6 separate regions of the Homo sapiens genome follow, and regions 1, 2, 3, 4 and 5 are each linked to region 6. The links are contacts of gene promoters, found by promoter capture Hi-C in blood cells and fetal thymus (Javierre and others, 2016). All regions are on one chromosome and are shown on one strand. Each heading gives the region's core, a stretch centred on a gene start or on the middle of the fragment in contact. The rest is flanking DNA. Distances are from core to core; before and after follow the strand shown.

Region 1 (2,700 bases), core at 56-2,555, 5.4 Mb before region 6:
TGCCCAGTGATAAGCACTTGCATCTACTAAAGCAATTTTGTATTTAATTCCCTCACAAGATGTGTTATCACCACCCCCACTTGCAAATGAGGGAACAGCTGGTGAAATTAGTTGCCCAAAGACATTTAGTGACTACATTTTATTGGGATTAAGGGGACTCTATTTGAGTTATTCATGCAGTTTTACAAAAGACAAGTGCCTCAAAGAAATATTAGGATATAGTTTCAGTAATTTTACACTAAAGGAGTTACATTAAAACATCAAACACTAGATTTTAAATTACTTGAATTCCATTATATGCAGTTTATTAAAATATTACTTTTAACCTCTGTAACCTCAACATCTTAATATTTGTCCAACAAATAAACTGACACCACATGCATGTTTTGCACCAAATGGTGCCTCTCTCCTCCAGGAGGAGTCTGGAAATGTATGGGAGCATTTTGGGTTGTCCCAATGTGGAGATCGCTAATCAGCATTTAGTGGGTAGGGGCGAAACAGACCTCCAAACTGCCAATAGCACCCACATAGAAACACTAAACTATGGGCTGATTCAAAAGGAAAACCTTTCATGGTAAAGTTAAACCACCTGTTAACACGCCTTAATTTACAACTTCCTATTCATTGATAGTCTGTTTAAAATATCTTAGAAGATCCATCGATCCCTTTCTATAAAACATCACTTACCTAGCATTTTATTTTCAAATACACACACATACTCACACAGACACACACACACACACCCCACATTTTAGATATACAGTTAATACTCTTTTATCCCCGATGTAACCAAAGCACTTCTCCTCCACTGCCTACCTGGCTCATTTTTTAACTCAATAAATGCATAGTAACCAAAGCACCTCTCCTCCACTGCCTACCTGGCTCATTTTTTTAACTCAATAAACGCATAGTACATTTGCACATGGTATAATCTTAGAAGTAGATGTCCTGCTGGATAAAAAATTTTGTTTCAGCATCAAGAATATAGTTTGAAATTTCTAGTTCCAAGAATCACTCATGTCAATAGGAAATTTTAGACTGCCTTGGTTCACTGCCTAAGCGTCCCAAGGGCACTATGCTAATGTTTATACTATGTCTGTCTTTAAAAATTGATGAAAAATGGAAATCTAACATGAATTAATTTATAAATGATATATAATTCCACACCCAAAGAGTGAAAAAGATGTAACCTGTAGACAGATTTAAATATGTACAAGAGCAAAATTTTAAGTAGGAGGTACTCAGTCAAAACTGTAGTACTCCTAAGCAGAACCAAGTTCAAAAGAAGACTTGCTGCTTAGGGACGGGTAAACTACATGGAGACCTTTGGCAAAGGTTTACTTTGGCATTCCAGTTGGCCAATGGTATTATCTCGTGAGTTGTGGAAATAATCACAAAATCAGATTTTTGAAGCCCTGAAGTTTCTTTTTAGGTTGAAAAAACTAATGTACATGAGGCTCCTAAGACTAATATACCAAAAAAATAAAAATGAGTATTTTGTGCCAAGTTTTAAAAGCTGAATTACACTATCTAGCTCTCAGCATTTAGTTAGATCCTGAGTACTGTTTCTTTAGATTTTATCTAGTCCCTACAAGGTATACCAAAAGAGAAAAAGATCCAGGACTTCTGAGACAGAACCCTGAGGCTCAGTCTTCAGCATAATTTGAGACTCACTTTTTGCCAAAGAACTGTGATTGACAACCTGAGCACTTTCAGTTCACCTTATTGTTCATTATTTCCTCCAGATGAACTGTAAATTGAACAGCTCTATCCAAGATTATAGATAAGACATAGCCCACCACTGCCAATTCCTTTGAAGCTGTTCTACTAGAAAAAGTTCATCAAAAGTGCTGACTCTTCAGGGAGAAGTTCCCCCCCCCCAAAAAAAAATGCTGAATCAAAGACTACTGTGCACTTCAAAAAACTCGCCCTTTTCTCTAGATGTGACTGTGGTTAGTACTGTGTAGGTAATCAGCAGGAATACATCAGCAGTCAGAAAACTGTGGCAGTTACTCCGGACTCAGCCAAATCACTTTACGTGTTTCTCTAGCTCCAGGTTCCCATCTATACAATGAATAGCATTTTCATCCACTGTCTTTCAAAGAACTGTGAGAACAAAATAAATATGAAAGTGATCCCTCCCTGTAACTATATTTCAATAAAAGATATTCTGAAATAGATGACCTTACAAAAGGATAAATTTGAAAAGCCAAAACAAATTTTTGCAAAAGAGCCTCTGCTATGTACTTCAGGACTGCCTCGAGGGTAGTTACGACTACCCTGTGAAGGGTACAAATAGAATCGAATCATTCTTTCCCTTCCCCAAGTCCTGAACCCTCTAAAAGTGAATACAGTTAAACATTCTGAAGTCCTCAGTGGAGAGAGAAGGTATCTTGTCTTCAAATCCTTCAGTGGATTACAACAATGTTCCCCTGAGCGGGTCTCCCCTCATTCACTTTTGCCACCCTCCACATTATCTCCCCCCCACCAAAAAAAAAAAAAAAAAGCCACAACCTGTCTCAATCCACTGCCTGTAATCTTCACTGGCTTCCCTCTGTTTTTAGAATAAAAGCTCTGCTTGGCGTGACCCCAGCTTTCTCCACCTGCCTCTCTCCCTCCCCGTTTCAGCCATGCTAGCCTTTCAAAAAGGCTGAAAAGCTTTCTTCCTCTTCACATTTCAGGGCCTTGACATACGCTGTT
Region 2 (2,700 bases), core at 16-2,515, 5.0 Mb before region 6:
TAAGCTTTCCTCTTTTGTTTTTATAGGAGGAAAGAATGGAAATGATTTCTGAAAGGCCAAAAGAGAGTATGTATTCCTGGAACAAAACTGCAGAGAAAAGTGATTTTGAAGCTGTAGAAGCACTTATGTCAATGAGCTGCAGTTGGAAGTCTGATTTTAAGAAATACGTTGAAAACAGACCTGTTACACCAGTATCTGATTTGTCAGAGGAAGAGAATCTGCTTCCGGGAACACCTGATTTTCATACAATCCCAGCATTTGTAAGTATTATTGTTTTTAAGATAGACGTAAATTATATAATTTCTTAAAATTTATATAATAAACTGTAGATTTCTCATGCTATGTATTTCCCTTTTCTTTAGTGTTTGACTCCACCTTACAGTCCTTCTGACTTTGAACCCTCTCAAGTGTCAAATCTGATGGCACCAGCGCCATCTACTGTACACTTCAAGTCACTCTCAGATACTGCCAAACCTCACATTGCCGCACCTTTCAAAGAGGAAGAAAAGAGCCCAGTATCTGCCCCCAAACTCCCCAAAGCTCAGGCAACAAGTGTGATTCGTCATACAGCTGATGCCCAGCTATGTAACCACCAGACCTGCCCAATGAAAGCAGCCAGCATCCTCAACTATCAGAACAATTCTTTTAGAAGAAGAACCCACCTAAATGTTGAGGCTGCAAGAAAGAACATACCATGTGCCGCTGTGTCACCAAACAGATCCAAATGTGAGAGAAACACAGTGGCAGATGTTGATGAGAAAGCAAGTGCTGCACTTTATGACTTTTCTGTGCCTTCCTCAGAGACGGTCATCTGCAGGTCTCAGCCAGCCCCTGTGTCCCCACAACAGAAGTCAGTGTTGGTCTCTCCACCTGCAGTATCTGCAGGGGGAGTGCCACCTATGCCGGTCATCTGCCAGATGGTTCCCCTTCCTGCCAACAACCCTGTTGTGACAACAGTCGTTCCCAGCACTCCTCCCAGCCAGCCACCAGCCGTTTGCCCCCCTGTTGTGTTCATGGGCACACAAGTCCCCAAAGGCGCTGTCATGTTTGTGGTACCCCAGCCCGTTGTGCAGAGTTCAAAGCCTCCGGTGGTGAGCCCGAATGGCACCAGACTCTCTCCCATTGCCCCTGCTCCTGGGTTTTCCCCTTCAGCAGCAAAAGTCACTCCTCAGATTGATTCATCAAGGATAAGGAGTCACATCTGTAGCCACCCAGGATGTGGCAAGACATACTTTAAAAGTTCCCATCTGAAGGCCCACACGAGGACGCACACAGGTACCAGCCACTTCTTATATCTTTAGTGTTTAAATGAAGAGATTTTGGCTGTGATCACACATTTAAACCCAGGATGATAAGGAATAACTTGCCTTTAGCTAGTTTAGAGGATGGTATTTACCAGTGCAAGGTCCTCCAAAAGGCTGTATTGGAGGCCGCTCACGAGTGCCATAATCCTTGCACTTTAGGAGACCAAGGTGGGAGGATTGTTTGAGCATAGGAGTTCAAAACCAGCCTGTGCAACATACTGAGACCTCATCTCTACAAATAATTTAAAAATAAGTATGTAAATACTTTATTGATGTGCTTTTGTTTCAGTCTCTCAAATGATGATTCTGTAGATGTCTGAGTAGTTACTTTAATAAGGTATCTTTAAAGCCTTTGAATCATAGTTAAAGTCAGGAAGTCTTTTCATTTTTGGCTTTTTTTAAGGGATGAAAAAAAACTGCTCTGTTGCCCAAACTGGTCTCAAACTTCTGGGCTCAAGCTATCCTCCTGCCCCAGCCTTCTGAGTAGTTGGGACTACAGGTGCCTACTACTCCACCCGGCTGCCTTATTTCATGTGGGGAAGAGTTTTGTAAATGTGATCAAGTGACAAGTTGAAATTGGAGCAATACATATCTCATATTCATTTGACAGTTTGATTTATTAGCTTTTATTATTTAAAATGTATCTTCTCATATACTTTTAGACAGAATTGAACATATAATTTACGGCAATCTTATGCATAATAATGATTTGTATGTCTTTGTTTTAGGAGAAAAGCCTTTCAGCTGTAGCTGGAAAGGTTGTGAAAGGAGGTTTGCCCGTTCTGATGAACTGTCCAGACACAGGCGAACCCACACGGGTGAGAAGAAATTTGCGTGCCCCATGTGTGACCGGCGGTTCATGAGGAGTGACCATTTGACCAAGCATGCCCGGCGCCATCTATCAGCCAAGAAGCTACCAAACTGGCAGATGGAAGTGAGCAAGCTAAATGACATTGCTCTACCTCCAACCCCTGCTCCCACACAGTGACAGACCGGAAAGTGAAGAGTCAGAACTAACTTTGGTCTCAGCGGGAGCCAGTGGTGATGTAAAAATGCTTCCACTGCAAGTCTGTGGCCCCACAACGTGGGCTTAAAGCAGAAGCCCCACAGCCTGGCACGAAGGCCCCGCCTGGGTTAGGTGACTAAAAGGGCTTCGGCCACAGGCAGGTCACAGAAAGGCAGGTTTCATTTCTTATCACATAAGAGAGATGAGAAAGCTTTTATTCCTTTGAATATTTTTTGAAGGTTTCAGATGAGGTCAACACAGGTAGCACAGATTTTGAATCTGTGTGCATATTTGTTACTTTACTTTTGCTGTTTATACTTGAGACCAACTTTTCAATGTGATTCTTCTAAAGCACTGGTTTCAAGAATATGGAGGCTGGAAGGAAATAAA
Region 3 (2,700 bases), core at 21-2,520, 5.8 Mb before region 6:
TGACAAATCTAATTTATATTTTAGAAACATTACTGCCTTGTGACAAACTGTAAACATCTTTTGAGCAGAGACTTATTAGCAATGCTCACACACATGTTGATAATATCTCCTACTCAACCAAAATAGTGAAATACTGTTTTCGCCTCATCTCATCTCGCTTACTCCTCATTCAAACTAATGACACAGCCCTTCTTTCTATGCCTTAGGTTCATTCCTGCCTGAAGACCTTTGCTCCTGTTATTCTCTTTATTTAGAACAATCTGCTTACGCATGGTTGGTCCCTTGTCATTTAGGTATCACAAAGTACAATTTATAAGTGGTTAGCATGTTAACGGGGGAACAGACCAGGAAGGATAAATTAATTTCATTTAACCATTCTTTCATCAAACTTCTTAAGGGATGGTAAGAGAAAACTGATGCTTTTAAATTCATCTTTGTCTCTTCCAACATCCACAACTAATGTGAAGTAGTAAAGCGGCAAGAAGAGCAGTAGGAAGGTTTTAAAAGCCTGTTTAACTCTCAGCCCTTCAACCCACGAGTTTGGCTCATTCAAGTCCACTTTTCAGTAATAGGAACCTGAAGACAATCCCAGAGCAGCAGCTGGAATTTTTCTCCACTATAGACAACTGTTTCCCACTCACCACTAGAGGAAATTCTTAGAAAAAGGACTTGAACAGACTTTACTTGCTATCCATCCAGTTCCGCAGCGACTCCGTAAGCACAAAGTTTGCCTTAGCGAAAGGTAACTGAGAAAGAACCAGACCAGAGTGCCAGCCTCCCCCGGCTTTACTCCGCGAAAGCCGAGGCTAGACCCAACGACTTGCGGAAACCGTCCCTTTCTCCCTACCAACTTATCTTACCTCTCTGTAAGTCCAACTTGGTTTCGCGGACATAATTGTCCGGATTCCGGCTCAGCATCTTCACCTTCATCTCGGTTGCTCTTCCGGCCGGACTCCACGAGGTGTCCGCTAGGAGTTCCGCCCACCGCCACCTCCTCCCACAGGCGACTTCCGCTTTTCCCAGACTACTTCCAGTCACGTGACTCGCGGAGCGGCGGCCTGCTGGCTCAACTGGATCCTGCGCCGCTCCGTAGTTTTGCCGGCAAACGTTAGCAAGGGGCGGTTCTTTAGCTGTGCAGTCGCTTCCGCGTCCGTGGGCTGGAGCATTTGTGGGCGAGGCAGGGCGGAGACTCGGGAGAGGCTGGGACCTCCCCTCCATCGCGCTTTCCGCCGGCGTGACGTAGTGTCTGTGCCCCGTTCTTGCCCCCTCAGTACTAGAGTCTCCGGCTTCGCTCACGCGCCTTGGGCATAAGAGTCCTCTCGTTGGTCCCGGAGGTGGGGTTGCGCTCACAAGGGGCGACCGTCGCCACGGTGGCGGCCACTGCATCGCGTCCCACCTCCGCGGCCCTGGGCGCCGTGGTGTCGACGGGCCCCGAGCCTATGACGGGCCAGGGCCAGTCGGCGTCCGGGTCGTCGGCGTGGAGCACGGTATTCCGCCACGTCCGGTATGAGAACCTGATAGCGGGCGTGAGCGGCGGCGTCTTATCCAACCTTGCGCTGCATCCGCTCGACCTCGTGAAGATCCGCTTCGCCGGTAAGAGCCCGCCCAGACACCGGGCTGCATCCTCTCACTGTCAGCCCGAACTGGATCTCCTCCGTCTTTTCCGTTCTAGGGGGAGGAGGAGCGTTGAAGGGAGCGTTGCTGTCCGCGTTGGCTAACCTGAACTAGATTTGAGGAAATGGTGCTTGGTGGAGGGGTCGGCCTGCGATCTTCCCCGCTCCTCAAGACTAAGAGAGGGGGCATGTATGTAGAGAAGTCTGAGAAAAAACATCCTCATTGGCAGAGAAGATGGGATTCAAAGCCTGATTTGTAAAATAAAGAAGGGATTGTCACATTTTAAGGTTTAGTCCTCACACGTGCAAATCATTCACTCTTGGAGGAACTTTGAAATCTTAGCATACCCACGTGGTTTGGCAGCTCGACTAGTATTGGGATAGGGCGTAATCTTCAGCGAATGGTTGGGAGTAGATTTAGAATAGAATTCTCTTGAATGTTTGTTTTTTGGCATTTGTAGAATGGTACAAGTTTCTGTGAAAAAATAGCTAGAATCGAAATACTATTTTAAGTGTATTAGATGAATTGAGTATGTTGAAATTAACAAAGCATTTTAGAAGTTAAACTCAACACTAAAGTCTGGAAAGAGTTTCAAAGATGATCTTTGATAACTGAAATTGCAGAAAATAGTTTCCAAATAAAGTTATTACAAGTTAAGTTCAGCCTTGAGAATTAAATCTACAGAAGTTGTTTATTTTAGCATTAGGCAATTCAGTTCACTTGATTTATATTCTCTTAATATTTGTAGACTGCTGTATGGGCTACAGAAGTATCTAATAAAGTTCTTGCCTTCAGGGAACTTAGAATTTAATTGTAGGCGTTAGACTTAGTCATATAAAAGGTAATTCTAGACAACATAAAATCAAGAAATACAAAAACAAAATATAAATACAGGTAAACCGTTAAGAAAATTCTACATTACTGATGGCCATGTGTATCTTTAAGGTTCAGTGGAAGATTGGGGCTTGGGGTTTCCCATAGAAGGGCTAATATTTTGACAGCTGGAGAGGAAGCAAGAACCCGTTCTATGAAGGAAAATCATCGAAAATTATGGAGTATTATCTCTAGAAAAAACACCACAAAGAC
Region 4 (2,700 bases), core at 148-2,647, 5.2 Mb before region 6:
CGCATGGCACTTCTATCCCTGTGTGCTTCAAGAGCCTTCCAGCTGGGTTCTTGGTTCCACCTGAGAGATAGGCCTGCCCCACTCCATCACAACGGCTGGCACCGCAGGCGATCCGACACATTAGGTGAGACTGTCTCTTCATATCCCTCATATCTGGGATGCTACGCTGGGCAGGCATCAACAGCTGTAATGCCCACGCAACCCCAGTCACTTACCAAGCAACCACAGCTTGTTCTGTGCCCCAAAAATCCCCAGCTCTGGCCGGGCACAGTGGCTCACGCCTGTAATTCCAGCACTTTGGGAGAGCGAGGAGGGGTGATTGCTTGAGGCCAGGGGTTTGAGACCAGCCTGGGCAACACAGCAAGACCCCATCTCTAATATATATATATAAGATTATACATATATGTATAAGATTATATATATATGATTTTACATATATATAGATTATATATTAGATTATATATATGATTATATATTAGATTATATATATGATTATATATATATATTAGATTATATATATATTATCTGCAGGGATCTATTTATATATATTATTTATATATATTACATATTTTATATATATATACAAAAATAAAAAATTAGCCAGGCATGGTGGGACATGCCTATAGTCCCAGCTCAGAGTTCCCTTCGAGGCTTGTTTTCTACGCTGCAGAGCAGAATGCCCGAGGCAATTAGGCTGAATGCTGTCCCTGGCAGATGTGGCTGGCTGGCCATCTTGGTCCTAGACCTCTGGGCACCGAGTGTAGACTTCTCACCCGGCAGAGCTGCCGCTCAGAGCTCAGGGCTTGGCCGACACTGACAGATTGTACCACTAGATGACGCTTGTGGATTACATTTGCTATAGTGCCTTGGAAGTTGCAGCAAACAATTGCTGAGTTTCCCACTGTTCAGAGTTGATTTCACATAGTATTAAGCTTTTATGTTCTATCACACTTCTGAGTGTCACAAGTGTCCCCGGTTCCCTGACCTTTGCATCTCTACATCCCTGCCCCTAGTCCTTTGTGGAGGAGCCAGGAGGAAGAAGGGATTCCTGCCTCACTTTCCCTCCCGTTTCCAAAGCCCTCCTCCCCCAACCGCCCTCCCCCTCCCTCAGTAGCAACAGCCTTTGACTCTCCAAGTCCCCAGCAAAGTACAGTACAGGCTGGCAGTGGGGATTTGGGAGGATGTTCCAGAAGACCCCAGCTCAAGTGTAGGGATTGTTAAATGTTTAGTTCAAGCCATGGCTGTTCCAGGTGGGCCACCAACTCCTTCAAGTCGGAGACGTCAGGCCCACTAAGGATGTGCCTATGGCCACAAAATGCCAAGTTTGCTTACTTTGATGCATCAAAGGAACCCACATGTTGGGTGAGCCTTCGGAGCCACTCAATAAAAGGGTTAGGAAGGGTTTTTTGTAGGGTCAGGTTGTTGAGGTGGGCTTACCTGGTTAGGGTTGGTTGGTTGGAAGAAAGGGGGCCTTGGCTGATTCATTCAGGCTCAAAGCAGGGATCTTTTTATCTGTAGGAGGCAGTTCCCCTGTGGCTTTGAGAAACATTGCTTTGTGACTTTGTGGGTCTATTTTTGTGTTTTAGAAGTTAAGATCTTGAGGTGGCAGTCAACTGGTTTCTCAGAGACCAAGTCTTAAACGTGCTTGTAACCCACAGTGAGTCCAGCTGGGTGTTTTGCAAGCAAATTTTTTTGTTTGTATAGTTTTTTTTAGCAATGGGGTTTCACTATGTTTCCAAGGCTGGTCTGAAACACCTGGGCTCAAGCCATCTTCCCACCTCAGCCTTCTGAGTAGCTGAGACTACAGGCACATACCAGCTACAAGCAGGTTTTGAATGTGTTTTTTTCTCCAAGAAGCTTTCTGATTTACACCTAAGATAGGGATTCACCAATTCACCAACGTGAGACATTGCGTCTCTGTCCTCCACCTTCCTAAGATACCTAGCTTTGTGCGTGTGTGTGTGTGTGTGTGTGTGTGTGTGTGTGAGAGAGAGAGAGAGAGAGAGAGAGAGAGATGCATTTATCCTCCCCGTTTGCAAGTGAATTTTCCCATGAGGTATCACCCTTTGGCATAGTCCTCCATTTGGACTGGGTGAGGTGGCGCTTCCTTTTCTTTGTCTTACACTGAGCTTTGACATTAGAATATTTTGTCCTTTGGCCCCAACTTTACTTAATTTGATGACACTCCCTCTGCAAGGGTCATTATGCTTCTGACCTCTCTCTGCCAGCCCAAACCCAGTCCAGGCCAAGCCTGTGGTCATGGTATCTGTGACTATGATCACATCCCTTCCTGTTCCTGTTGGCTATCACAGCCTCATTCTTGGTACTGGATAGCTTCCAGCTGTCCTGCCACCCACCATCCACCCTGCTCTGCACCTGGAGGCTGATGTTCACAGACTGCCTCAATGCTTCCCCTGCCTCTTTGCTTTGTGGTCAAGCAAAGTGGAGCGGAGAAGCCTGGGGGAGGATAGTGGGGTCAGGGTAGTCCTTCCTGGGCTCATTTCCTGTCCAGTTGCCTCTGGCGGGCTGAATCTCCCAGCAGAGGCTGGAGCCCTTGAAGGGGCCCTGCACCTAGCTTGCCCTCTCTCTCTAGGTCTGGTTAACCGCTCCCTCCTCTTGCCTTTCCCCTTTGGCTCCCGGGAACTGGACCATCCCCTGGCTATCCTACACCTTGTCCACACCCTTGAGCATGCCACCTGC
Region 5 (2,700 bases), core at 92-2,591, 5.2 Mb before region 6:
GTGTTTTCAAATGTTCTGAATAGAACAGAACTTTGAAGAAATAAAAGACAGAGCCAAGATATAGCCGAGCAAAATAAGGAAAAACAAAATCAGGAATGCGTCCACAGCTCCTGATTCTACCGAATACTCTCTCATACAGCCTCGCAAGATACCCTGCTTTTCCACACAGGAAGGTCGCTTTCTTCCTTTCACATTTGATGATTTATTAATCAACCACAGTGCTGCTCAAAGTACACAGAGGGTTCGGAAGAATGAAAGGGAAAAAAGTCAGGGTCTTAATATCAAAGATCTTAACTTCAGAGGGGTGTGTCAACACATATTCCATTTGTGCTATGTGTTGCGAAGCGTAGCAGCACGAGAGAACTCGGGGTCTCTGATCATGATCATTAGTGCTGAGGCATCTAAAAAAGATGAAAATAAATTAAAAGCTATGTAGGTAATCTTAGAACCCCTAGTAAAAAAAAGTCTGTTGTGGAGTAGAAAAATTAAAACGACCGCGAAAATGAGACCTAGGGGATTGAAGTAATGTGCGCTTGTAACATCAGTAATCCCCTCTCCAACGCGGGTCCTGCTTGGGACTGACTCCACCAATCCTTTTAAAAATGAAGACATAAAAGCCATATTCCTTTAAAAAATTTCCACTGCACCGTATTGCAACGTTCGAGCACTGAGGACATTTTCACGTGGTCACAACCCTTTTTAACACCCGGACACTGGGCCGGTCCTTTCTGGCCACGAGGAACTCGCTTCCCTAAAGGAGTACCGCATCACCGAGGGCGGGCGCCTCAGCCCGGGAGGACACTCCCCAGGGTAAACTACAGGCCTCACAAAGCGGAGGGAGCTGGACGCGAAGGCTCGGCAGCGGCGCCGACAGGCTTACCCCAGGCCCACTCTAGGCCGCACAGGGTTCGCGCCACCTCCGGCCCAGGACAGCTCTCAGACGCTGCCAGCGTGGAGCTCGACCCGGCTCACAATGCGCTGGGCCCCGCAGCGTGAGCGCAGGCGCCCGAGAGGCGGCGGGGGTCGGGCGGACGGCGCGCTCCAGCCGAGCCGCCTCCCTCTCTCGGCCCACACCCGCGCGGCCGCCCTTCGCCTGCCGGGGAGCTGCGGGTGGCTGGAGGGCGGGAAGCGACCGGCCAGTCTGCACCTGCATGACCCGGTCGCGCGCCGACCCCTCCCCTCTCTCTCCCGGGCTCAGTCCTCCTTCCTCTTCCGTCCCCCTCCCTTTTCTCCGGGCTGCAACCGGGTTCCGCCCCGCTCGCGCGGCTGCCCGGCCAGCTGTGATGTCACCAGGCCACGCCCCCTAATATAAATACTGGCGTCGCTGGCGCCGCCTTCTCACACTTTCAGGCTCTGATCGCGGCCGCAGTTTTTCCTTTTTTCTTCTGCCGTCGCCTTCTCTGCCTCTTCTCATCCTTTCTCGCTCTGCTGCTCTGCAGTGTGACGAGTCCGAATCCTCTTCCCACCCAGCCCGCGCCTTTCTTCTTTTGCCTGCGCTGTTCTATTTCTCCTTCGGCCGCCGCCGCCACTGCTGCACACAGCTGGTGTCGGTGCCGCGCTTTTACCCCCAAGTCGTTCCCGCAGCCTATGGCCCAGGCCGCCTTGGGTATTTCTGCTCAAGGTAACCACATCCCTCTTTAAAAATTCCGCCGAAAAAGAGAAGACGCTTTACCCGACTCTTTGGGCCGTTATCTCACGTGAGTACCGAGCCGAGGAGCGCGGGAGGGGCCAGGACGCGGGGCTGGCCTTGGGGGGCGGCTGGGGGGCTCCGGCTGGGCCCCGCCGCCCTTAAGACGTCCCCGCAGCGCCCCGCGGCCGGCCGCCTCGAACATGGCGGCGGCGGCTGTCTGTGCCCCCGGCGGCGGCGGCGGCGGCGGGGCTGGGCGGCGGGCCGCGCCTCAGGACCTTCGGGCGGCTGCTGGACGCTTGGCGGAGCCGGAGCCGCAGCAGTTGGGGCGAGGGGGCGTGTGCCAGTGGGGGAGCGCGCGGGGGTCTCGCCGCCGGGGGTCGCCGTCCCCTCCTGGCGGCGTGCGGCCCCCACCCCTCTCCCGTGGTGCATTGCTGTTTCCGGGGAGGGGGCCCGGCCGCAGCCCTGAGGGGCCGGGGTCCCGCAGCCCCTACTCCGCGGTGCGCCGCCGCCACCTTTGCCTCCCGAAGCCCGGCGGGCGGGCGGCGCTGTGGGCTGCAACGGCTGGGGTCCTGGTTATGAATGGAGCGGGGCGGGCCCCGCGCCGGCCTCTGGTGACAGCTGCGGAGGAAGTCGGATTCCTGGGGGGCGCGGGGAGCGCGGTCCCCCTCTGGTGGAGGAAAGTTGACGCCACTTGGGGCCTGGCGGCGGGGAAGCCCCGGTGTCAGGTAGCCAGCGAGAGGCTTTTGGCCCCTTCTGGAAGCCTCGAGGCTGCTGCTCCGCCCCTGCGGCGCTCCTGATTGGGTCAAGTCGCCTTCACTCACCCCAGTCACCTCCTGGAGCCTGAGGATTAGTCACCATGGCTTCGTTTTTCCGTCCGCGCCATGGTTCCTAGGCAGAAAGAGGGAGATTGGTAGACGGGTGGCTTATCAACTACTGTCTTGACTGCCAACAGTTGGTGGTGGTAACATGTTCTAACCCTTACACGGTATCCTGAATGTGTGTTTCGTAGACAAAGCTGCTGGTTCAGAAACCCGAAACAGTCGGGGACACAGTTTACCGCCTCATGTTTC
Region 6 (2,700 bases), core at 102-2,601:
GACCATACACCTCAAAGCGTATTAGGTAACCGACCCCCTCTTGCCTTGCTCCCGTTCCGGCCTCTGTTGGCCACATTTGCCAGAACAAGAATGGGCAACCATTTCCCTTTAACAGTCCCAACTAAAATGGAAGCGCGTCTAGACCTGGACACCTTTAATCCTGTGTAAGCCCCAGAATTTCTAGGTCACCGCACTTCTTCCACTGCCTACTGTCTCAATGTGACTTGAGATAGACATCTGTCTTCCGAGCGCAGTCTTTATACAACTTCCTAACACCACCTTAAGGTCCCATTACGCTCCACATGCAGCCTACTCTGCAGGCCTCAAGGAAGGATGCTGTGCTTATTCTAGCGGTGACGGTTCCCAAAGATGGCTTGACCTCTGGGCGCCTATCTGAACGGACCCCCAGACCTCCTAACTTCCTTCCTCGAAACTGGGCTTCCCCACTCGTCCTATACTTCCTGAGTTCCCCCCATTCCCCAAATAACATGACCACCTATCACCTCCTCCTCCACTTGGGAGTGCTGCCTCTCGGCTTTCGACTAAGCACTCTTTTCCTTCCCGGCTGGGGCGCGGCCTCCCCCAAGCTCGAGGGTCTCCACGCCCGCCCTTCGCCCGTTCTCTACTGCCGCTCATCCCATACTCACTTTGGGCTTCTCGGACAGTTTCTTCCGGTTCTTCTTCTTCTGTTCCTCGCTCCGGAGATTCTTCAGCAAGGCCAGGTCGTCGGGGGCCGCGGCCGGCACGGCCGCCGCCTCCTCCCGCTTGCGGGGCGGGCTCCTCCGCTTTTTGCGGGCGCCGGCGCAAGCCGCGGCCCAGCCGTAGCCCAGCAGAAACAGCAGCAGCAGCCCGAGCGCGCCAGTGCCCACCAGGATCACCCAGCCGGGGTACCGTTTCGGCTCCAGCCCCAGGTCGAGGCCCAGCTCGGTGCGCAGAAAGCCTAGGCCGACCGAGAGCATTTCCCGCAGCCGGGCCGAGCCCTCCTCGGCCTGCTGGGCCAGCTCGTCCTGCCAGCTCCGTGCAGCCATCTTCCCTCCCGTCAGAGGGACTCGCAGGATGACGCCGGGGCGCGGAGACGCAGTGGAATAGTCGAGGGAAGCGAGGAAGGGCCGGGCCGGGTAACCTCAGGCCGAGCGCATCGCGGCCGTCCCTCGCGCCGGAGCCGGGGATCGGCCGCTGCCACCGCGGGGAGGGCGGAGGGGTCTCCCAGGTTCCCCGCTGTCAGCCTCACTCCGCCGCCGCCAGGAGACCCGGGAGGCGGGAGGGAGTGTCTCCAGTGGCGGCCGCTAAGCGGCGTCTCGGCGCCAGCGCCAGGCCCCGCTGTCCTCCCTCGGCGGAACAATGGCGGCTTGGGCCGCGATCCACGCCGCGCGCGGGGACGACCGTGGGTCACGTGGGCGCCAGTGGGCGGGGCGTGGGCGTCACGTGGGGGCGGGCGGGGTCGGGTGGGGCAAAGGCGTGTCAGGGAAGGTTGGCGGTGGTCGGTTCGGGCCTGGTTAAGACGCGGCGTTGGGGACCCGTTACTGTAGACCAGAAGCTGGGAGGGGTTAATTGGTGGACGCCTTCGCGGGGTGGCTGGTGGCGCAGAGTTAGGAGACGTGGCGCAACGAATGAGTACAGAGGAGGGGCTCCGTGCAAGGCGGGGGCGGGCGGGGGGCGGGTAGGGCTGCAGCGCTAGGAACCGGGTCACCGGGTCTAGGTCAAAGTCGCCCTGGCAGGTATAGGGCTCTTCATGCCTTTTTCTGGAGTGTTATTGAGGTGGAATCGCTTTTTCTCCCTGGTGGCGCCAGTTGGATCCTTCCAGAATGAGCTCAACGGAGTCTGACGCCGAACACTGTTCTTCCGGGACCTAGGTTTAGTTCACAAATTGGGTATTTCTCTCCAGGGTGTTTCTCTCCAGGGCAACTAATACACTGCGTGCCTACCAGTTGCCAGCCTGGCGAGGGCACGTTTGCGTCGTTTGGCTCATTCACTCTTGCTCTCTGTTGTTAGTCCCCAGAATTCAAAAGTTGGAAAGCCCGTGGGCGGCACTATTCTTTTCCTACTAATTTGTAGCTTTAATAACACATAAGGGGAAGCACATTAGATTGTATTTACTTATGGAGGGAGCTTTCTCGTTACGTTTTATTTTAAGCTTTTCTACAACACTGCAAAAGGGGTTTGCAAAAATTCCATTTTTATATGCTATGTTGACCATCTCTGGGATGCAGCTATAGAAGGAAACGAACTGCCTTTTCAAATTTTTTTTTTTTGAGACAAGAGTCTCGCTCTGTCGCCCGGGCTGGAGTGCAGTGGCACTATCTCCGCTCACTGCAAGGTCCGCCTCCTGGGTTCAAGCCATTCTCCTGCCTCAGCCTCCCGAGCAGCTGGGACTATAGGCACCCACCACCACGCCCGGCTAATTTTTTGTATTTTTAGTAGAGACGGGGTTTCACCGTGTTAGCCAGGATGGTCTTGATCTCCTGACCTCGTGATCCGCCCACCTCAGCCTCCCAAAGTGCTGGGATTACAGGCGTGAGCCACCACGCCAGGCCTTCAGGTTTTAATTATAAGGGAAATGCTTGAAGGCTGCCTTAGGGTTTTAAGATTATATTTTGCTATAAGGAAACTCTGTATTTTATCGGTAAATGATCATTAGCGTGTAAGCAACTGTCTTAAGTGAACTAAATACAGGCTTTCTCAAGGAATACAGCAGGGGTA

Evidence for each region. The method cuts DNA at HindIII sites, captures the fragments that hold promoters and counts their contacts. A CHiCAGO score of 5 or more calls a contact.
Region 1: a fragment that was not itself captured here is called in contact with the fragment with the promoter of MTDH in region 6 in 3 of 17 cell types (naive CD8 T cells, non-activated CD4 T cells and activated CD4 T cells); the score reaches 5.4 in naive CD8 T cells.
Region 2: a fragment that was not itself captured here is called in contact with the fragment with the promoter of MTDH in region 6 in 4 of 17 cell types (fetal thymus, naive CD8 T cells, activated CD4 T cells and 1 more); the score reaches 7.6 in fetal thymus.
Region 3: the fragment with the promoter of SLC25A32 here is called in contact with the fragment with the promoter of MTDH in region 6 in 5 of 17 cell types (total B cells, total CD4 T cells, non-activated CD4 T cells and 2 more); the score reaches 8.7 in total B cells.
Region 4: a contact is called between a fragment that was not itself captured here and the fragment with the promoter of MTDH in region 6, in 1 of 17 cell types (fetal thymus). The highest score is 6.2, in fetal thymus.
Region 5: the fragment with the promoter of AZIN1 here is called in contact with the fragment with the promoter of MTDH in region 6 in 3 of 17 cell types (naive CD8 T cells, total CD4 T cells and non-activated CD4 T cells); the score reaches 9.5 in naive CD8 T cells.

What each region holds. Positions count from the first base shown.
Region 1 is chr8:103,023,087-103,025,786 of GRCh38, reverse strand. The region is part of intron 1 of ATP6V1C1 (ATPase H+ transporting V1 subunit C1); the gene reads right to left. Among named protein-coding and RNA genes, the nearest start is that of ATP6V1C1, 3.4 kb to the right of the region's middle. The HindIII fragment of the contact is 2,711 bases long and covers 1-2,660 here.
Region 2 is chr8:102,649,724-102,652,423 of GRCh38, reverse strand. KLF10 (KLF transcription factor 10) reads left to right here. Exons shown (of 4, transcript NM_005655.4): 2 at 27-260; 3 at 363-1,275; 4 at 2,033-2,700. The coding sequence ends at 2,292. Among named protein-coding and RNA genes, the nearest start is that of KLF10, 4.7 kb to the left of the region's middle. The HindIII fragment of the contact is 2,517 bases long and covers 7-2,523 here.
Region 3 is chr8:103,413,677-103,416,376 of GRCh38, reverse strand. SLC25A32 (solute carrier family 25 member 32) reads left to right here and starts at 1,270. Exons shown (of 7, transcript NM_030780.5): 1 at 1,270-1,593. The coding sequence starts at 1,440. DCAF13 (DDB1 and CUL4 associated factor 13) reads right to left here and starts at 991. Exons shown (of 11, transcript NM_015420.7): 1 at 861-991. The coding sequence starts at 930. RefSeq lists enhancers at 910-1,249, 983-1,604. The HindIII fragment of the contact is 9,226 bases long and covers 1-2,700 here.
Region 4 is chr8:102,812,931-102,815,630 of GRCh38, reverse strand. No RefSeq gene overlaps it. Among named protein-coding and RNA genes, the nearest start is that of GASAL1, 7.3 kb to the right of the region's middle. RefSeq lists enhancers at 1,603-1,652, 1,663-1,762. The HindIII fragment of the contact is 925 bases long and covers 935-1,859 here.
Region 5 is chr8:102,862,804-102,865,503 of GRCh38, reverse strand. AZIN1 (antizyme inhibitor 1) reads left to right here and starts at 1,341. Exons shown (of 12, transcript NM_148174.4): 1 at 1,341-1,697. MAILR (macrophage interferon regulatory lncRNA) reads right to left here and starts at 1,233. Exons shown (of 3, transcript NR_126339.1): 1 at 881-1,233. RefSeq lists enhancers at 263-995, 2,464-2,700 and silencers at 875-1,224, 1,885-2,114. The HindIII fragment of the contact is 10,250 bases long and covers 1-2,700 here.
Region 6 is chr8:97,642,835-97,645,534 of GRCh38, reverse strand. It overlaps MTDH (metadherin), which reads right to left and starts at 1,351. Exons shown (of 12, transcript NM_178812.4): 1 at 648-1,351. The coding sequence starts at 1,028. RefSeq lists silencers at 222-390, 674-743, 1,014-1,473, 1,654-1,763 and enhancers at 1-520, 521-1,501. The HindIII fragment of the contact is 3,502 bases long and covers 1-2,136 here.